7 separate regions of the Homo sapiens genome follow, and regions 1, 2, 3, 4, 5 and 6 are each linked to region 7. The links are contacts of gene promoters, found by promoter capture Hi-C in blood cells and fetal thymus (Javierre and others, 2016). All regions are on one chromosome and are shown on one strand. The core of a region is centred on a gene start or on the middle of the fragment in contact, and the rest is flanking DNA. Distances in the headings are between cores, read along the strand shown.

Region 1 (2,915 bases), core at 8-2,507, 290 kb before region 7:
ACCCTCCTGTGTCAGGCAGGTCCTCTAGGAAGCAGATGCCAAGATTAAGTTAGAAGTGCAGAAAATCTGTTGGGGGTAATCCCTATGAAAGATAAAGTGATGAGGGAGCAGGAGTGGGCAGGGAGAGCCATTAGACTGTGATGCAGGTCTGGCATCTAGGAAAGAAGAGAGAAGGAAAGATTGGGTAGGAAAAGCCTCCGACTGCAGGGCAGCTGTAAGACAGTCTCAGTCGGCCTGAGTTCTTACGCAAGACCGCGCACGCAGGAGTGCCGCTTGGGCAGAAATGGCCAGGCCCGAGAACCCCATCTGAACTCTATCACAGGCTGGGGCTGCCCTGGAGGAGTGTGACATTGGGTCATATGTGGGGGTGATTAAAGCTGGAGGCTGTCAGCTAACTGGACTCCTTGAGGTGGGGCCTCCCCTGAAGGGAAATCTGGGTGGAGGTACCTCCTGACGACACTGAACACTCTTGGAGGCATATGCTGTCTTGTCCCCTGTGCAACCTTGGCCATACGATAAGTGTCCTGAAATTTAAAACTTTGAGTACTGACATGCCTGATACCCAAATAAAATGCTCACTGGAGCATTTTGGATTTCAGATTTGGGATGCTCAACTGGTAATGCAAATATTCCCAAACCTGAAAAAACCCGAAATCAGAAACACTTCTGGTCCCAACCATTTTGGATAAGATGTATTTCATAAATTAGTATTTCTTTTCATAGAACTAGCAGTAATGTAACAATAATAGCATGATGTGATAGAGCTTGGGCTTTAAACCCAGAAAGCTGTGAATTCACATCTCAGGATTTTTTTTTCTGAAGCTAAACTACAGCTGGAATCTAGTGCAAATAATTTCTTTAAACAGCCAAAATGGGATTAATAATGCTTTACTCTCAGAGTTGCCAGGAGGATTAAATAAAATGCCTAATTTCACTGGCTGCCTTTTAGGAGGTGTTGAGTAAATGTCCTCTCCTTTGCTCTCTCTTGAATAGTTTATTGTGGGATAAAGCACTTTTGTATATACCTTCTCATTTGATTTTGATTTGGAATAATTTCTAATAAATTGAGATTTTAAAAGGTATGTGGCTGACTCAAGGCCACCCAAGCAAAAACAAGGCAGAACCAAGGCTTGAATTCAAAGCTTCTGGTTTCCATCCCAGCACTCTATGCACTATCGGCAGTTTTCAGGAAAATGAGCCGCAGTGTTCCATCATACAGCCAATAGCAGAAACACGTGATGATGTATAGGTAGAATACAGTGACACAGTGGGCAGGGAGATATATTGGGCTGAAAATCTGAAAAACAATACAAATTACTAAACATTCTGAATGAAAAGTGAATAAAGGGAGCATTGCATATATTTTATCAAATAAGCTTATTGAGGTTGGGTGCGGTGGCTCACACCTGTAATCCTAGCTGAGGCAGGTAGATCGCTTCAGCTCAGGAGTTTGAGACCAGCCTGGCCAACATGGTGAAACCCTGTTTCAATTACAAAAATTAGCTGGGCATGGTGGCTCGTGCCTGTACTCCCAGCTACTTGGGGCTGAGGTGGGAGGATCACTTGAGCCCAAAAGGCAGAGGTTGCTGCGAGCCGAGATAACGCCACTGCACTCCAGCTGGGGCGACAGAGTGAGACCCTTTCTTAAAAAAAAAAAAAAAAACCCAAAAAACTCAAAAAACCAAAAACCAAAACCAAATAAGCTTATTGATAAAATAGGGAGATTTTAGGCCTAAACAGTCTAGCCATAATACTAAGAAAAATGGCTTTTCCTAGGCTTGAAAATATAACGGAAAAACAATTTCTTTCCAGGAAGATTCACTGACATCTACCACTGTGATTCTGCTTTCTGTCTCCTGCCTTGGATGTTACATGCAGTGTTTGAAGGATGGTCCTTGTGTGTAGGATGCTTGAGCTAAAAATGCCTGCCAAAGCCACTCCTTCCTGTGCTTTGTCATAATTTATTGCTAAGATGTTTATGTTCTCTGGTTTTGAGGTGCTAGAGATCCTGACTAAAAGTGACTTCCTCATAAATGAAGATAAGTTGAAGTCATTGTGAGTATTCACTACACAGCTTTGTTGATTTTATCCCTTTCATAACTTGAGATGGCTTTTTTAGCCAAGCCATCTCAATAGTTTGTTTCTTTTCCTCTACGATTTACAAACTGAGCTGACCAGTTTGCCAGCAAAGTTAACTGACGCAAGATGGTATTCTTCGCAGCTATTAAGTGTCCATAAAGTCTCTTATCTGTGTGGCATTCTCAAGGTTAGTTTCATTCCTGTGGCCTGTGAATTTAAGTCAAATATACTGACAGTGTCAAGTCAAATATACTGACAGTGTCCTCACTGCATTCTCCCCTCCAGTTTTCTTGTAACAGCTTTAGTCTCTCTACGTACTTTGTGTTTTCTGGAAACATTTTCAGTCAATCCTAAGCTTGAACACTCATACTTACTGTTCTTTGATCATATTCTAGATTTTCCTACTTAGGTATTTCTCATGCCTTTCTCCACATCTCTGCTCCTTGAAATGCTACTTATTCTTCAAAAGGCAGCTTAAATGGCCTCTTAGCTACACTCCCAACGACAAAACAATAATGATTTTTCCTAAATCCTGAAGCATTTGGCTTGGATATTTTTATGAAACTTATTAGAACATTCTGTAAAATAGTTACCTGTGCTCAGATCTGATCTTTATTTTTTAAGTTCCTTCAAGGCAAAGATTGTTTTAAATTTCTCATAAATGCTTAACACAAATGTCATTAAATTTGTCAGTAATTCTATATTGACAAATTAAGTTCTATATTTCCCACAGTTGGAATTTAGAACAAAATGTGATTAAAACTTTTGCTAGTCTTGGCCAGGCGCGGTGGCTCACGCCTGTAATACCGGAATTTTGGGAGGCCGGAGGCGAGCGG
Region 2 (3,209 bases), core at 202-2,701, 390 kb after region 7:
GTATACAATTGACTTTCCTACATCAATCTGGTATCTTACAATCTTGCTACTAAACTCACTTATGCTATTATCATTTTTGTAGATTCTTCAGATTTTTTTTACATAGATGATCATGTCATCTGTGAATAAAGACAGATTTACTTGTTTCTTTCCAATGTAAATGTTTTTAATGTAATGCCTGATTGCATTGGCTAGGATCTTCAGCAGAGTGTTAAATAGAAGCGATGAGAGCCAATGTCTGTGTCTGTTTGATATCACAGGCAAAGCATTCAGCCTTTTACCATTAACTATGCTGTTTTTGTAGATGCCTTCAATCAGGTTGAGGATGTTTCTTTCTGTTTCCGATTTGATGAGAATTTTTATCAGGAGTGGATGTCAAATGCCTTTTTTTTCTATTGATATTATATACTTTTTCTATTTTAGTTAATCTGATAAGTTATATTGATGTTTGAATTTGTACCAACTTTTTATTTCTGATATAAACCCCACTTATTAATGGTGAAATATGCTAATGGTGAAGTTAGACTCAATTTACTGAAATATTTAGACTTTTTACATCTGTGTTCATGTGTGATATTGGCCGTTAGTTTCTTAATTTGTAATGTCTGATTTTGGTGTCAAGGTAACACTGCCCTAATAGGATGTATTAGGATGTATTCCCTCCTCTTCTGTTTTTCGGAAGAGTTTGTGAAGAACTGATGTTTTCTTTAAATACTTGGTAGAGTTTAGCAGTAAAGTCTTCTGGGCCCAGGTTTTTCTTTGTGGGTAGTTTTTTATTTTTTATTTTTTGATTACTTTTCTGGCTATTTACTTTTAACTTATTTGTTTGCCCATGTTTAAGGTGCGTTTCCTGTAGGAAGCATATAATTGAGTCTTTTGTGACACTTCCACCTCCCTTTAAGGAAAAACTTGTCCGCAAGCTTATCAGATGATTTTCTCTCAGTTTCTGTTGGCTAGGATTGTGTCTGGGGCGTGGGCCTAAACCAGTCAGGCAAAGGGGAACAATGAAAATACCATGATTGGCTTAGCTGAGTGCCTCTCAAGATGTGGTCTCCAGACCGGTAATATTAGCATCACCTGGAAGCTGCTTAGAAATCCAGATTCTTTGACCCTATGCATCAAACTTTTAAGGGGTGTGGTTTAGCAATTTGTCTTAACAAGATGTTTAAGTAATTTTGAGGCATGAGACATTGAGAATAACTAGCCTGGACTAACCTATACTTGTGAGTAGGGAGAAGTACCGTGTACTGGGCAGTTTAGGCTATGTTGCAAGGAAGTGGAAGGGATTATTACCTACATAGGTAGGTGATAATCTTGCCATAGTAGGACTGAGCTGGGGCCCAAGAATATGATTTTTAACTATATATACTCTTGATGGAGTCACAACTGTGCAACACACTCTAAGGAAAAAAAAAAATATATTGGACTTACAATTAAATCCATTGAGATCTATATTTTAGAGTCCTTACCTGTAACTGGAGTGAACAAACTGTCTCAAGGGCAAATCAGAGCCGTTGCATGTTTTGTATGGTGGGTAAGATACGGTTTTATGTTTTTAAATGATGAAAAAAAATACAAAGAATGTGAAAACTATGGGAAATTCAACTTTCAATGTCTATAAATCAATTTTAAAGGAACACAGCCACGTTTATTCGCTTACATATTGTCTAGGATGCCTTTGGACTGGAATGGCAGGGCTGAGTAGTTGTGACAGAGATCATGTGGCTTACAAAGCCTGAAATATTTACTTGCCGGTCCTTTACAGAAAACATTTGGCAATCCCTGATCTGTAAGAATAATTTACTGAAGAATAGTACATTCCCCAACCATCTTGTATAACTGATAAATTACTCTAATAGGTGAACGTTTTGTCTAGAACAGTGAAAGTATGAATAATGAAGTATGTTATTTCAAGAATATGTGCTTATTAGAATTGTGGTAGCTTTGTTGGAAAGAAGATTACTTTAGATTTGTAATTAATGTAAGCTTATAGTAGTAAGGTGTCACGTATTAGAGCCAGCAGTTTTGGGGAGGTAATTCACCCTCCCCCCTTTTTTAGTTAACTGCTGTTTATTCCTCAAGATAAACCTTTCTGTATAGCCCTATCACTGAAAATATTCTAAAATCTACCTTAACATGGCATATTAATGAGAGAAGCTTTTTTATAACTTGCAGTGCCTCCGGGTAGTCATTTTGAATACTATCCATTACTGTGTAATTGTGTAGGTGCTGAAAGTGAAGTCTTCGTAAAACATATCTTTTAAAGCTCTTTGTTTGGCTTTAATGAAAAAGAAACATATACCAAGGTTAGTATAGATTTGAGACAGGAGAAATATGTGATTATGTAAGGGTTCAAAGAATCAAGTGACTGGCTTTTACGGGTGTTTAGACTTATTTTTAAAAAATACACATAAGATTTGCCTTGTTTGTCACATCATGTTTACCTTCATTAGCCCAAGTTTACAAAAGATTCTGTTGCCAAAGAGAAAGATGAAAATGTTCATTTCTTGACATGTCAATAGAGATAGTAAGATCATGATAGTGCCTTTTTAGGGCTAGTTTAGTTAAAAAAAAAAAAAAAGCCCTTGATCTCTGATGCTGAAACACACAGTTAGGGGGAAAATTGTTAGACCTTTTTTTGGAAGTTCTCACCAGGCTACAGGAAGTGTCATATTCTATTTGGGGATATTTGCCTGTTAAAAACTATTTCTGATACTTTGAAGTCATCAAATATGAGTTCTGTTTCTATGGAAATTGTTAAATACATGTTGCTTTCCCCAGAGAGAGGTACTCTCTGTATACCTATATCATACCTATAATGTAGATTTCTTTTTTTAAGGTTATACATTGGCTCTTCAAAGACGTTCACCTCATCAGAGAAATCCCTGACTCCTTTGCAGTGGTGTAGACATGTCCTAGATAACCCAACTCCTGAGATGGAAGCAGCGAGACGTTCCCTGTGCTTTAGACTGGAGCAAGGTAATTGTGAGTGTGTGCATTTACATTCTCCAACTCTTGTCACTCTCAGTGCTGCTTTTGTTGCTGGTTTTGGAATAAACATTTCAATTGAAAATTCTTACCCTGAGGTGCAGCTGTTGCATGCAATTTGCTTCACATGTATTACACATCAAGCTTTCTCAATGTAAGATGTGTTTAGTTTTGTGCTTGATTTTAGCCATATTTTTAGTTTGCTTTAGTTCATATTGCAA
Region 3 (3,153 bases), core at 624-3,123, 360 kb after region 7:
TCGAGACTAGGAAGAAACTGCATCAACTAATGAGCAAAATAACCAGCCAACATCATAATGACAGGATCAAATTCACACATAACAATATTACCTTTAAATGTAAATGGACTAAATGCTCCAATTAAAAGACACAGACTGGCAAATTGGATAAAGAGTCAAGACCCATCAGTGTGCTGTATTCAGGAAACCCATCTCATGTGCAGAGACACACATAGGCTCAAAATAAAAGGATGGAGGAAGATCTACCAAGCAAATGGAAAACAAAAAAAGGCAGGGGTTGCAATCCTAGTCTCTGATAAAACAGACTTTAAACCAACAAAGATCAAAAGAGACAAAGAAGGCCATTACATAATGGTAAAGGGATCAATTCAACAAGAAGAGCTAACTATCCTAAATATATATGCACCCAATACAGGAGCACCCAGATTCATAAAGCAAGTCCTGAGTGACCTACAAAGAGACTTAGACTCCCACACATTAATAGTGGGAGACTTTAACACCCCACTGTCGACATTAGACAGATCAACGAGATAGAAAGTCAACAAGGATACCCAGGAATTGAACTCAGCTCTGCACCAAGCGGACCTAATAGACATCTACAGAACTCTCCACCCCAAATCAACAGAATATACATTTTTTTCAGCACCACATCACACCTATTCCAAAATTGACCACATACTTGGAAGTAAAGCTCTCCTCAGCAAATGTAAAAGAACAGAAATTATAACAAACTATCTCTCAGACCACAGTGCAATCAAACTAGATCTCAGGATTAAGAATCTCACTCAAAACCGCTCAACTACATGGAAACTGAACAACCTGCTCCTGAATGACTACTGGGTACATAATGAAATGAAGGCAGAAATAAAGATGTTCTTTGAAACCAACAAGAACAAAGACACAACATACCAGAATCTCTGGGACGCATTCAAAGCAGTGTGTAGAGGGAAATTTATAGCACTAAACTCCCTAACTCATTCTATGAAGCCAGTATCATCCTGACGCCAAAGCCAGAGAAGGATATAACAGAAAAAGAAAACTATAGACCAATATCCCTGATGAACACAGATGCAAAAATCCTCAGCAAAATACTAGCTAACTGAATCCAACAGTACATCAAAAGACAATACACCATGGTCAGAAAGGGCTTATTCTAGGGATGCAAGAATGGTTCAACATACACAAATCAATAAATGTGATTCATCCCATAAACAGAATTAAGGACAAAAAGCTTATGATCACCTCAATAGGTGCAGAAAAAGCATTTGATAAAATTTGGTATCATTTTGACACCAAATTTCATGACTAAAAACCCTCAACAAACTAGGCATAGAAGGAACACTCCTCAAAATAATAAAGGCCATATATGACAAACCCACAGCTAACATCATAATCAATAGGGAAAAGTTGAAAGCATTACCCCTAAGAACTATAACAAGACAAGCATGCCCACTTTTACCACTCCTATTTAACATAGTACTAGAAGTCTGAGCCAGAGCAATCAGGCAAGAGAAATAAATAAAAGGCATTCAAATAAGAAAAGAGGAAGTGAAGTTATCTCTTTTCTCTGATGATATAATCTTATATCTAAGAAACCTTAAGACTTTACCAAAAAACTCTTAGATTTGATAAATGAATTCAGTAAAATTTCAGGATAAAAAGTCAATGTACAAAACTCTATACACATTTCTACACACCAATAATGAGTAGCATTTCTACACACCAATAATGATCAAGCTGAGAAACCAAATGAGCAATTCCATTTTGAATAACTACAAAAAAAAAGGAATATATTTAACCAAGGAGGCAATTGATCTCTACAAGGGAATCTACTGATGAAAGAAATTGTGGATGACACAAGCAAATGGAGAAACATCCCATGCTCATAGATTGGAAGAATTAATATTGTTAAAATATCCATACTGCAGAGAGCAATCTACAGATTCAATGCAATCCCTGTTAAAATATCATCATTTTTCACAGAATTAGGAAAAGATATCCTAACATTCATATAGAACCAAAAAAGAGCTTGAATAAAATCAAAGCAATCCTGAGCAAAAAGAACAAAGCTGGAGGCATCACATACCTGACTCAAATTATACTACATTGTTACAGTAATCAAAATGGCATGGTACAGGTATAAAAACAAACATATAGATCAATGGAACAGAATCAAGAACCTAGAAATAAATGCACATATCTAGAGCCAGCTAATCTTTGACAAAGTTGACAAGAATACACACTGGGAAAAGATAGCCTTTTTGATAAATAGTCCTGGGAAAATTGGATTGCTATATGCAGAAGAATGAAACTGGACCCCTATCTCTCACTATATACAAAAACAAACTCAAGATGGATCAAAGGTTCCAATGTAAGACCTGAAATTATAAAAATACTAGAAGAAAACCAAGGAAAGAGTCTTCTGGACATTGGTCTCGGCAAATAATTTATGACTAAGACCTAAGAAGTACAAGTAACTAAAGCAAAAATAGGCAAACTCGAGTTAATTAAACTAAAAGCTTCTGCACAGCAAAATAAATATTCAACAAGTGAACAGACAACCTGTAGAATGGGAGGAAATATTTGCAAATTATGCATCCAACAGGGGACTGTTATCCAGAATTTACAAGGAACCCAAAAAACTCAACAACAACAATAAAAATAACCCCATTAAAAAGTGGACAGAGGATGAGAATAGACAATTTTCCAAAGAAGACATAGAAATGACCAATAAGCATATGAAAAAAATGCTTAACATCACTAATCATCAAAAAAATACCAATTAAAATCACAATGAGATACTATCTTACATCAATCAGAATGGTTATCATTAAAAAGTCAAAAATAAAAGATGTCAGCAAGGATGTAGAGAAAACAGAATGCTTATACAAAGTTGGTGGAAAGTAAATTAGTAAAATCTGTACAGAAAACATTATGGAGACTTCTCAGAGAATTAAAAATAGAACTACCATTCAGTCCAGCAATCCTACTAGGTATCTACTGAAAGGAAAGAAATCATTATATGAAAAAGATACCAACACTCCCATGTTTATTGCAGTACTATTCACACTAGTAAATATATGGAATCAACCTGAGTGTCCATCATCAACAGACTGAATTAAAATGTGGTATATATATATACAATGAAATAGT
Region 4 (3,113 bases), core at 614-3,113, 410 kb after region 7:
AAGATGATCAAGCAATGGTAGGAATGTCATTGTTTCTGGGAACTTTTTGTTGGTCACAGAATAATTTTCAGTGTGACAAATTAAAGAAACTTAGGTTGTTCCTTAAACCCATTCTGTCGTCTGCCTTTTTATGATTTTCTTGATTTTATCACGGGAGCATTTATCGAATCTAGTTTTTTTGGTCATACTTTGCTTAATGGTATACAAAAATAACTACACAGATGTGTTATAACTTATCTTTTCAGTCAAGCAACTTTGAAAATGTACAAAAAATAAGAGACCGTTAGTCACCCTCAACTTATATTTTTGAAAAAAAATGAGGTATCAGTCTACAATTTAGTACTTTATCACATTCATTCAGTAGAAGATGATTGTCAGACAAGGGAGGTGAAGTATAAAGTTTAACCAATAAGGGTGCATCCTTAGGGTAGCTTCAGAGACACTGTAGAGGTGGGCATGAGATAAATGACAGTCTGTAAGGGTGGTAGTGAAATGAGCTGAAGTACCTTTAAGGTCTTGCATTTGATGAAAAGCCCCTGCGGTACTTTAATTGATGAGAGTAACACAGTTAAAATACATGACATTCAGAACAGGTTTGCTCAGGGCAGTGTTGGTGGCTGGAAGTTTGTTGAAGAGCAGGTTGCAGTAATCTGGTGAGAGGTGGTGAGTGGTTAAGGAAGTTGCGGTAGAACTACAGAGATTATGCAGAAAGAAGTGTCCTGGGAGGCAGTTTAGCTTAAGGCATTTGGGAAAGAAAACTGTGCCAAGTATCGTACATTGATTCAGTGTGTAGTCCTGTTTGGGGCCAGTTCGATGCTATTCTAGGGATTGGAATAAAATGAAAAAATGCATAGTCTATGCCACTTCCAAGTTTGCGAACCGCCCCCCCCCCCTTTTTTTATAAATAGAACTCTGGAGTAGGAGTATAGGGAAATTTAACTGTTGTTCAAAAATGGATCACCCATTTTTTCTCTTTTGGCAAAATTGCCTCACTCCTTTCTTTAGAGCTATTTCGGTCATCACTGAGCCTCTTGAATCATTTCACATCATTTTATATACCAAAAATCCACTGAGATAATTGGTTGAAAAAGATAAAATTGCTCTTTTTTACAAGTTCTTTTTGTTTGTTTTATTCTTTATAAAAGTGCTTCCTGTTACAATTCTTTAGCTATGTACTGAAGAACAACTAGGATGTGATAGCTTCCACTCCTGTCCTCCTCCTCCTCCACTGTAACCTTGGGCACTAGTGGAGCATTATTGTTTTGTTAGCCTGCCTTTACAATAATTTTCCTCCCCTTTCTGAAAAGCTTCAATGCTAAACAACAATGTAGAGCATTCTTTCTTGCAATAGACGCTAATTGTGTTCCTAGTTGGGATCTTGCTGTCATAGCCACAATAACTGTGTCAATTGTGCAGGGAGGCTGGGTCACAGTGGTTATTGTGCAGAGTGATGAATGCTGCTTACTTGTGATGTGCTGCCGCCCGCATCTGTGGGTGAGAACACGCAGTTACTGTAATTTGCCTGGCAAGTGATCAGACTGGTATAAAATAACATCATCTGTTAGGCAAGATAGCAGTCACAAAGAACTATTGGTCTTTTAAAATATAGAATTTTTAATGAGAAACTTTGAATAATAGAGATTGAACATGTGAGAACAGCTACCTAGTGTGTGTTGCATTATTAACCCCTAGTTTGTAGTGTATTCTGGAGTCAAGTTGACCTACATAGAAGAGAAGGAACTGGAAGTGCATGTCTGTGTTCTGGCTCCGATTGGGAAAAGCTGCTTAACCACTGTAAGTTACGGGTTGGATAAGTGACATATACGACTGGTGTCAATTGGCAACCAGGCTTCACAGTTTCATGAAATGTGTGGATTCTGAAAGTGTTGTCATTGCGAATGTGGTTTCCTTGCCTAGTTCTTCCACATACTTAAGGAAAAGATATTTTTAATGTAATTGTTAGAATGTGTTGGTACGTAATGATTCTGAAGTAAAAGGAATTTTTTTTTTTTTTTTTTTAAGTAAACTTGGTGTTTTGCAAGGATCTGAAGAATCCCAGTTTGGAGCTGATTATTTTCTTGACTGTCCACATCCCACAGTTTTTTTTTTTTCTCTCCATCCCACTGCCCATTTTAAAGCACTTTTCAGCTGTCTGATTGCTCATTAGCATTGCTCATTAAAAGTGGTCTGGGGGCATGCATTTCAAAGCAGTCCTTTTAATACTTGGTTTTTCAAGTTTTGTCAAATTCCCAGTGAATACAAACCAAGTTATTTCTTGAAGTTTAGCCTTGTTTATATTTTTTATATTATTCCTTCTGCTTAGTACATGTCTAAATGATTACTTTTCAGAAAAGTGAATTTTGCTTAGCGCATTGATTTGTATCTCATGAGAGGAGAGTAAATCATGTTTGGTGTGACTTAAGCTTTTATGATTTGGGATTTGTGTGTGTGTGTGTGTGTGACCCCAAGAACATGGAGATACAAGGGGTGGTAATTTTGGAGGGGAGAAGTACATTAATTAGACAAGTGAGGTAATGTAAGAATGAGATCATCTGCCCATGGCTGGTGTAATTCCTTTTTGTTCATTATATTAATTTAAAAAATAATATTAAAGTAATAACATGTATATTCCTACCTTGAAAAGCTAGTTATATAAATAATATGTATGTTTAATGCAGATAATTTGGAAGTTTTTTTTAAAGAAAAAATCCGAGTGATCACCAATAGTCTCTGTACCGGATAGTCATTGTTAAGCTCTGGTATAGACACCCCTCTGTTACTCTGTACACTGTTTTTCCTTTAAACCTTGTTTTGGTCTCAAGGCCATTTGGAAACACAATAGTCATTCTAAGTCCTCCCATAATCCAATACTGAATTTACATAAAATGTTTTTTATCAACATTTTCTGATATTAACTGAGTAGAAAAAATATAGAATTACATATAGTTAATATTAAGAACATTTCCCTTAATTCCTAAAGATTAGGAAGATTATAAACTTGAGTTTTTCTTTTGACACTAATCCTTTTTTATATTGCAAAACACTAAATCCTTATGTGGAAATAGAAAATTGAAAACATTTCTAACGTAGAAACTCAAAATAAATTTTCATTA
Region 5 (2,887 bases), core at 221-2,720, 260 kb after region 7:
GAAGGTCTCTGAGACACTCACACTCATTCTTTGAAGACTTCAGCACCACGCTCACTGTCTTTCCCAAACCCTCCTCTTGTCATAATGCTTGGTGATTTCAAAATCCATGCAGAGGATCCTTCCCCTCCCCGACCACTCACCTTTGTGACCTTCTCCCCGATGATCTTGTTCTTCCCACTACTGCAGCCATTGATAGATCTTGCCCTGTAAATAACCACATACCCTACAAAATTACAAGACTTCTACTTCAAAGCTTTCCCTCTCTGGCTCCCGCTTTCTCTCTGTCCAGCTCACTCCCTTCAGTCCTTTGATTCCAGGAATTCCTCAGCCCCATCACAATCACCAGTCCATTAATTCTACCAGTTTTTTCACAGTCCCCACTACTCATATTCTCATTTCCCTCCATGCCCATCTCAAACTCCACAGCCCCCATTGTAACCCCTTCCTTGAAGACCCCTTCCACTCCCTTGCCATCATTCTCTTTGTTGCACTCACTTGGCTGAATTGTAAACGTGGCTAATGGTAAATCCAACTCTCAGTCTATTCTGTTCCTCCTCCCCAACCAGTTGAATATGGCAAGAGGAAACAATGCCAAATAACCTGATTTTAAGCCCATGAGTACTAACCTCAACTGAGCCATTGGTATGGCCCAAGGATCCTTCAAGAGACAGCACAGCATTTGGAGGGTTTATGCAGCCAGACTTTCCCTTTCAGATTCCCAGCTCTGCCCCTTATGAGCTGCATCATCATGAGATATTTATCTTTATGTTCTGTGCTTCAGTGTTTTAATCTGTAAAATGGGAAGAAGAATAATACTTATGTCTGGGATTGCAGTGAGGATTTCATTAGTTAATATATGTAAAGTGCTTAGAAAAGTTTCTGGCACATAATGACCCCATATAATAGTACATCATCATCATCACCATCTTACTACGTTTCCTGGGTCCACTTACTCTTCTGCTTGCCTAGAAAACCATTTCACACATTTTCTCCGCCTCTTTCTTTCTCACACAGTCCTAATCCCTACTCAACCTCCTCACTTTGAATCAATGATCTTGATTGTTATTTTACTGAGAAAATAGAAGTAAACAAAAGAGAACCTTCCTCACTCTGAGTCAATGAACGTACCCCAGCTATACTCATCTAGTTCTTTCCCTCTTGCTGCTGTGAATGAGCCCTCTGTACTTCCATCTAAGATCAACCACCACCCTGTGCCTTAGGTCCCATCAATTCTCAAAGTCATCTGTCTAGTGATTTCCCCCTCTCTCTCCTGCATCAATGATTCACTGGATCATTCCCATCATCATACCTACATGCTGTAGTAACCTTCCTCGATCCATCAGCCTCGAAGTAGCTACCCATTTCTGTCTTCCTACTTTACTGCCAAACTGCCTCAATGCCTCTATCTCCTTGCTTCCCCATTTTTTCCTAAATCCACTCGTATGATTTTTTTTTCTTTTCCCACCATCGTTCCATCAAAACTGCTCTTATCAGGGTGACCAAAGACCACTCTGTTGGCCAAACCATGGTAATTTCCCAGTCCTTGTTTTTATTTGATTAACAGTAGCATCTGAAATGGCCAAGTACTCTTTCCTTGAAACTTTTCTCGCTTGGCTTCTGGGATGCCACGCCCTTCTATTACTCTTGTTTCCTTCTTGGCCACTCCTCCTGATTCTTTTGCTGTTTTCATCTCATATTCTTGACCTCTAAATATTGCAGGGCCTGAAGGTCCAACCCCTGGCCCTCTTTTTGTCTCTACTTACACTGACTCCCTTAGTGATCTCTGCCAGTTTAAAGCATTAAATACCATCTCTAAGCTAATGATGGCTGTATTTATATGCTTTTTCTCCAGATAGCCTCATGGCTTACTCTATTACTTCCTGCAGGTCTTGGTTCAAATTTCACCTGACAGAGAGACCTTCCCAGTCCATTCTAAATAAAATAATCTTCCCATTCCATCAGTCTATATCTCCTTATTCTGTTTTATTATTATTATTATTTGCACAGCACTTTTCTTCTTCTGACATATATTTATTTGTATATTGAAAGCCTTTGAGAACAAGGACATTACCCAGCTCACAGAGAGCCTTCCTTGCACATAGAAAGCTACCAATAAATGTTTGTTGAGTAAAAACACAATCTCATTCAGTCCTGACAATACCCCAACAATCCTATTAGAAAGATTATTACAGATGAAGAAACAGAATCAAGTTAACCTGTTACCACACAGCTGGCAATTCAGGCAGCCTGACTCTAGCCCACATGCCTATCTACCATTGCTACAGAAGCCAGAAGGGTACACAGGATCAGAGGGTTCTTTTACCAGGTACAGAGTTTATGTTGAGGACAAATAGAGAACTGCTGGGGTGGTAGTGGTGGGGAACACAGGGGAGTGACATACTCTTAGTAAGGTGCTGACTCCATCCAAAATGTGCACATAATTGCCCATCTCCAGTTCCTACCTCATTAAGTCCTGCCAACTCAGAGACTGCTGTGGTGCTTCATTGGAAAGTTTAGGCTGACGGTAGATTGTATATATGCTTTGTCAGCATCAAAGTGGCCTGTGCTGACAATATTTAAGTCAGATTTAGTTAAGAGCTTCAAATCAATGCTACCTTGAGGTCTCTGAAATTAAAGCCTTTTCTTGCTGTTTCCATAGCAGCCTGATAGTTGACATAATCCCCAAAGAAGCTTATATATTAATACCCAAGGACCATTTACAGTTCTCATGCACTGCTGACCTGAAATGCCATGACTAGAGCTAGATATACTAGCAAAATATTGAGTTATTTAAAGAACATAGTATAGTCCAAACTATAGTGAAAGAGGATTGGGTTTTCAAGAACCTGATTAAATAAACTTTAAAAATACACATATTTTCAATATT
Region 6 (3,073 bases), core at 240-2,739, 430 kb after region 7:
TTTCTATAGTTAAATTAATTTCTAGGTATTGTGATTTTTAATAAGTAGTATTTTTATAAATAGTATTTCCTCAGGTTTCTTTCAGTTTCTACTAGTTTGCTGGTATTTTGAATATAATTGATTTTTGTGTTTTGATATTGAATCCAGCAACTTTGCTAAATTAATATCTCCTAATAGTTACCCAACATAATGAGTGCATATGATCACCAAAACATGTTCAAGGAGGTTCATAAAACCCCAAATTAGAAATAACCTAGCTTTCTGTCATCAGGGGAATAATCACATTTATACAATGGAATACTGCTTAGTAATACAGCAACACAGGTGAATCTCACAGACAAAGTGTCGAGTGAAAGAAGCCAGATTAAAAGGTTAACATACTAATAAGTCTATTCCTAGGAAGCTCAAAATAGGGAAAAACAGTCTGTTGTGATAAAAGTGGGAATAACACTTACCTTTGGGGGAGTTTTGACTAGGAAGAGGCATGAGAGAGCATTGTAAGGTGCTGGTGATGCTTTTTATCTTGATATGATTAGTGGTTACATGAACATATGCACTTTGAAAATTCACTGAGCTGTAGACTTAAGATGTATGTATTTTATGTATATTATGCTTCAGAAGAAATTGAGCCAAATTCATGTGTTGAAGGTTTTTAAAAAATTAACACTTTTTTGGAGCAGTTTTCAGTTTATAGAAAAATTGAACAGGAAGTACAAAGAATTCCCATGTAATCCCTCACCCTCTGTATCTTCCTAGTTTCCCCTATTATTAACATCTTGTGTTAGTGCAGTAGACTTGTTACAGTTGCTGAACTAGTATATTAAATATTTGCATGGTTAAAAACTAGCAAATTAAGGCATTACAGAATTGATTAGAAAGAATCTTAGAGATGATTCGTCAACCAAGAGGACTTTGCTGTGTCACAAAGCTAAATGGGAACACACCTAAGGGAGGATCTTACATAGACTTTATTTTTATAAAGCTTTTTGACTACTATACACATGTATCAACATTTCTTTTTTTTTTTCTTATTTCAATAGTTTTTGGGGTATAGCTGGTTTTTGGTTACATGGATAAGTTATTTAGTGGTGATTTCTGAGATTTTGGTGCACCTGTTACCGAAGCAGTGTACACTGTACCCAATATGTAGTTTTTATCCCTCACCACCCTCCCAGACTTCCCCACAAGTCCCCAGAGTCCATTATCTCATTCTTATGCCTTTACATCCTCATAGCTAAGCTCCCACTTACATGAGAGAACATACGATATTTACTTTTCCACTCCTGAGTTATTTCACTTAGAATAATGGCCTCTGGTTCCATCAAAGTTGCTGCAAAATATTAATTTGTTTCTTTTTATGGGTGAGTAGTATTCCTTGGTGTATATATACCACAGTTCTTTATCCACCCGTTGGTTGATGGGCACTTAGGTTGGTTCTATATCTAAGCCATTGCAAATGCTGTTGCTATAAACATGCGTATGAATGTGTCTTTTTTTCAAATAATGACATCTTTTCCTTTGGGTAGATACCCAGTAGTGGGATTGCTGGATCAAATGGTAATTCTACTTTTAGTTCTTTAAGGAATCTTCATACTGTTTTCCATAGTGGGTCTACTAATTTACACTCCCACCAGCAGTGTAAAAGTGTTCCCTTTTTGCCACATCCACACCGAATCTATTGTTTTTGACTTTTTAATTATGGCCATTCTTGCAGGGTAAGGTGGTATCTCATTGTGGTTTTAATTTGCATTTCCCTAATGATTAGTGATGTTGAACATTTTTTCATTTGTCTGTTGGCTGTGTATCTTTTTTTGAGAAATGTCAATTCATGCTCTTTGCCCACTTTTTGATGGGATTAGTTGTTTTTTTTCTTGTTGATTTATTTGAGTTCCTTGTAGATTCTAGCTATTAGTCCTTTATCAGATGCATAGTTTGCAGATATTTTTTTCTACTCTGAGTTATCTGTTTACTCACTGATTATTTATTTTGGTGTGCAGAAGCTTTGTAGTTTAATTAGGTCCCATTTATTTATTTTTGTTTGAGTTGCCTTTGCTTTTGGGATTTTAGTCATGATTTCTTTGTCTAAGCCAATGTCCAGAATAATTTTTCCAATATTATCTTCTAGAATTTTTATGGCTTCAGGTCTTATATTTAAGTCTTTGATCCATTTTGAGTTGATTTTTGTATAAGGTGAGAGGTAGGTATTCAGTTTCATTCTTCTACATGTGGCTTGCCAGTTTTCCCAGCACCATTTACTGAATAGGGTGTCCTTTCCCCAATTTATGTTTTTGTATGCTTTATTGAAGATCAGTTGGCTGTAAGTATTAGGGTTTATTTCTGGGTTCTCTATTCTGTTCAATTGGTCGATATGCCTATTTTTATAGCAGTACCATGCTGTTTTGGTAACTATAGCCTTGTAGTATAATTTGAAGTCAGTTAATGTGGTACCTCTAGACTTGTTCTTTTTGCTTAGTCTTGCTTTGGCTATGTGGGCCGTTTTTTGGTTCCATATGAATTTTAGGATTGTTTGGATTGTTTTTTCTAGTTCTGTGAAGAATGATGATGGTATTTTGATAGAATTGCATTGAATCTGTAGATTGCTTTGGGCAGTATGGTCATTTTCACAGTATTGATTCTTCCATTTCATGAGCATGGGATGTGTTTTGTTTGTGTCATTTGTGATTTCTTTCAACAGTGTTTTGTAGTTTTCCTTGTAAGATTTTTCACCTCCTTGGTTAAGTATATTTCTAAGTATTTTATTTTATTTTTTATAGATGTTGTAAAAGGGATTGAGTTCCTGATTTAATTTTCAGCTTGGTTGTTGTTGGTATACAGCAGTGCTACTGATTTGTGTACATTGATTTTGTATCCTGAGACTTTACTGAATCCATTTATCAGATCTAGGAGCTTTTTGGATGAATCTTCAGGGTTTTCTAGGTATCTAATCATATTATTGGTAAACAGTGACAGTTTGACATCCTCTTTTCCAATTTGGATGCCCTTTATTTCTTTCTCTTCTATAAGTACTCTGGCTAGGACTTCCTGTGTTATGTTGACTAGAAATGGTGAAAGT
Region 7 (2,860 bases), core at 312-2,811:
TCTACATCAAGGAAGCTGAAGGTGTAGCCAACCCAAGTAAAAGAGACAAATCTACGCGCTATTCAGATTTTCTAGCTAGTGGCAGTTGAACGCTGTACCAGCTGTCATATTCTGAAGTTCTGCAGTTTTCCCCTTTTCCCTACAAAACCCTCTCTACTCTAAAGCCTGTAAGTAACAGAGGAAATCGAACAGAGGATGAAGAGAAATGGCCGATGGGACATCAGATCACAAGAGTAACTGCAACCTCATTTCTAGAAGACCAAAAGGCCCGGTTATCAAAGTACAGCTCTAAAAATCTCTATCAGACACCTTTCGCATCCACACAGATCTCCATCTGCGTCCCTTATTCATAAATCTTTTTAAAGCAAACCTCACGCCTATCCCTCGGGCCTGCTTATCCAAAACTCAACCAATCTATACCATGACTCCTCTTGGTGAAAGGCAGATTGAAGGGAGGTGGAAAGGGCTGGAAGGAATGTCATGGGAGAGGCGGCACGTGCAAATAACATTGCGGCAGAGACACTGAAAACGCCACTTCCCTTGCCACTGTTGCAATTCTCTTCGTGTATCATCCTCTTACCCTCTCTACCCATGCCACCTCCTACCTCAACGATACACACACGTGTCACAGCCGACCAGCACCATCGCCTTTTCCAGCATCACAGGTTCCCCTACCACCCCTCACTATCCCCCCACATAGGCAGGCAGACACACACACACACACACACACACACACACACACACACACACACGAGAAACTGCAGCCACCGCACCCTCCTATCTCGATAAGTGCTCCTGCCAACAGACATCCAGAGCGGACTGAAAGCTCAATAAATGCGCAGGTACACACACGCAAGCACACACACACGCGGGTGCACGCGCGGCATGGGGCGCAAGGAAGGGCGGCATGGGGCGCAAGGAAGGGCACCCTGGGGACGCACCTGGAGGCTGGGTGTCCAGCGCTGCCGCCCCCCTGGTCCCTGTCATTGAGCGCAGCGGTATAAATCCTCCGGTAGCGGTCGGCCAGGGCCCGGCCTGACAGCAGCAGCTGGTAGTGACCCCGGGAGTCCGCGGCGGGTAGCCCCAGCCCCAGCCCCGCAGCAGCCACGGAGCCGTCGGGAACCGGCATGAACAGCGCCCCCGGCGCCGGGGAGGAAGAGAAGGTGGCGGCTGGGTAGAATCCGTCCCCGCCGAGCCCCGAGGAGGCGGCGGCGGGGGAGGCAGTCGCTGCGCACATCATCATCCTCGCCGCCGCCGCCGCCGCCGCCGCCTCGTCCCCGCGGGCCGGGCGGGCAGACACGCGCGCGCACACACAGCCCTTTTCCAACGACGACGGCTCCGGCGGCGGCCTCTGGCTCCCGCAGCAGGGAGACTACAAAGACAGCGACCTCCTTCTCCTCCTCCTTCTTCTCCTCCTCCCCCCCGCGCCGCCCTCGCCGCTACTGGGGCCGCTCATCTAACCCCGCCACCCCGGGAATGTGAGGAGGAGGCGGTGCCGCCACTGCCGCCGCCACCACCGCTACCACCGCCACCACCGCCGGGGCTACCCGCAATGGGAAGCTGCCGGCCTCACAGAGCATGCGCCACTCCTCGCACATGCTCAGTAACTGCCGCCCCTTTTCCTCCCCACCCCCTCTCCGCCACCACTCCCTCCGCCTCGGGGCTTTGGGTTTGGGGCTGTTGGGTTGTGCGGAATCTGAAGTAGTCCACTTCTCCGGGTTTTACTGGCAGCTTGAAGAAGAGTAAGGAAAGTGCTGGGGAGGCTGTCAGCTACTGACGTTCGACTTCAGGTTCCCTCCAGGTGGAAGAACGAGGACCAGAAAGCAAGGGGGAACGTGCCCATCGCCAGAGGAGGAGTGGCACGCTCTTCTGCTACCTCTTCTCCAAGGCTCTGCTGCCAACAGGAAGATTTACTGTGAATTGTGCTGGTTAATTCAGAGTTTAAGGCAGAGAAAACCATCCCAATTAGAAGTGCCTTTAGCGATCTTATTTTATATGGTTTTTGTCATTAGGATTTACGCTTGTTTAACACAGCTTTTACTTACAAAGACAGGTAGTAATCTAGCACATTCTTTTTTGTGTGTGAAAGTATTTTGTGTGTGAAAGTATAACAGATAGGCTAGTATTCACAAGCCAGAGTCATTCCCAAATTCTTGTTCTCAACGGAGCAATAATATTTTTTAAATTACTCTTTTTTATTGACTCCTCACTCACCTAAGAGTGCACTTTTATCTCTTGGCAGTGGTCATTTAATGGTTTATTTTTTTCTGCCCAAACTTACATTTTTAAAGATAATTCTTGAATGCGATCTGAAACAATAATTGTGACGGAGACTGTATAGCGTCTGAAAATGTCAGATCCATCACATATCTTGTTGTTGTCTATAAAAAAGTAACATTTGCTCAGTCCTTTGTTCCAAGCTAACCTACGAACCCCATCTAAGTATATGCTCTAGAAATATACGTGCCAATGCACTTTGATTCCTACTACGTTTTATCCTTTGACTCTCAATTTGAAGAGTTTCCTAATTTACAGTCCTGACAAAATAATTTATAAGTTCTGTCATCCCAGTACTGTATCTTTCATCTATGTACTAGTTCTTATATCTGTGCCTCTTCTTCGGATGGCCTTCTCTTAAAAAAAAATAAAATAAATGTTAAAAAATCCTCCTTAGTGTTTGAGAAGTGCAAACAACAAGGAATAGGAAAGTAAATTAATTCTAGTTTTAGGGTGGAAGGTTGCTGAAAGCAATGCATTTTTTTCTGAAGCTTTAAATAATGGATGGATTTCATTTAGTTTTTTTAAAGATAATTAGCAGTGGGATAAACATAGGAACAAAGGACAAGACATGTGGAATCAT

The links. Contacts are between HindIII fragments. The CHiCAGO score rates a contact against its expected background, and 5 or more counts as called.
Region 1: a contact is called between a fragment that was not itself captured here and the fragment with the promoter of MYCBP2 in region 7, in 10 of 17 cell types (fetal thymus, non-activated CD4 T cells, naive B cells and 7 more). The highest score is 9.2, in fetal thymus.
Region 2: a fragment that was not itself captured here is called in contact with the fragment with the promoter of MYCBP2 in region 7 in 7 of 17 cell types (naive CD8 T cells, naive B cells, total CD8 T cells and 4 more); the score reaches 12.0 in naive CD8 T cells.
Region 3: a fragment that was not itself captured here is called in contact with the fragment with the promoter of MYCBP2 in region 7 in 2 of 17 cell types (total CD8 T cells and naive CD8 T cells); the score reaches 6.0 in total CD8 T cells.
Region 4: a contact is called between a fragment that was not itself captured here and the fragment with the promoter of MYCBP2 in region 7, in 7 of 17 cell types (naive CD8 T cells, naive CD4 T cells, naive B cells and 4 more). The highest score is 10.3, in naive CD8 T cells.
Region 5: a fragment that was not itself captured here is called in contact with the fragment with the promoter of MYCBP2 in region 7 in 1 of 17 cell types (naive B cells); the score reaches 5.1 in naive B cells.
Region 6: a fragment that was not itself captured here is called in contact with the fragment with the promoter of MYCBP2 in region 7 in 1 of 17 cell types (naive CD8 T cells); the score reaches 5.3 in naive CD8 T cells.

Annotation. Positions count from the first base shown.
Region 1 is chr13:77,040,777-77,043,691 of GRCh38, forward strand. No RefSeq gene overlaps it. Among named protein-coding and RNA genes, the nearest start is that of FBXL3, 15 kb to the left of the region's middle. The HindIII fragment of the contact is 234 bases long and covers 1,141-1,374 here.
Region 2 is chr13:77,716,693-77,719,901 of GRCh38, forward strand. It overlaps SLAIN1 (SLAIN motif family member 1), which reads left to right. Exons shown (of 7, transcript NM_001242868.2): 2 at 2,840-2,979. Among named protein-coding and RNA genes, the nearest start is that of MIR3665, 20 kb to the left of the region's middle. The HindIII fragment of the contact is 1,066 bases long and covers 919-1,984 here.
Region 3 is chr13:77,685,448-77,688,600 of GRCh38, forward strand. No RefSeq gene overlaps it. Among named protein-coding and RNA genes, the nearest start is that of SLAIN1, 11 kb to the right of the region's middle. The HindIII fragment of the contact is 1,288 bases long and covers 1,230-2,517 here.
Region 4 is chr13:77,739,647-77,742,759 of GRCh38, forward strand. All of the region lies in intron 2 of SLAIN1 (SLAIN motif family member 1), which reads left to right. Among named protein-coding and RNA genes, the nearest start is that of MIR3665, 43 kb to the left of the region's middle. The HindIII fragment of the contact is 1,116 bases long and covers 1,306-2,421 here.
Region 5 is chr13:77,586,084-77,588,970 of GRCh38, forward strand. All of the region lies in intron 9 of SCEL (sciellin), which reads left to right. Among named protein-coding and RNA genes, the nearest start is that of SCEL-AS1, 19 kb to the right of the region's middle. The HindIII fragment of the contact is 2,438 bases long and covers 252-2,689 here.
Region 6 is chr13:77,756,417-77,759,489 of GRCh38, forward strand. All of the region lies in intron 5 of SLAIN1 (SLAIN motif family member 1), which reads left to right. Among named protein-coding and RNA genes, the nearest start is that of MIR3665, 60 kb to the left of the region's middle. The HindIII fragment of the contact is 1,018 bases long and covers 981-1,998 here.
Region 7 is chr13:77,325,533-77,328,392 of GRCh38, forward strand. MYCBP2 (MYC binding protein 2) reads right to left here and starts at 1,562. Exons shown (of 83, transcript NM_015057.5): 1 at 942-1,562. The coding sequence starts at 1,243. It overlaps LOC127898562, which reads right to left and starts at 1,456. Exons shown (of 1, transcript NM_001414702.1): 1 at 1,373-1,456. The coding sequence starts at 1,456. The coding sequence ends at 1,373. LOC107984564 (a long non-coding RNA gene) reads left to right here and starts at 1,513. Exons shown (of 2, transcript XR_001749930.2): 1 at 1,513-1,603; 2 at 1,732-2,666. RefSeq lists enhancers at 1-41, 1,712-2,041 and silencers at 982-1,101, 1,142-1,521. The HindIII fragment of the contact is 13,146 bases long and covers 1-2,766 here.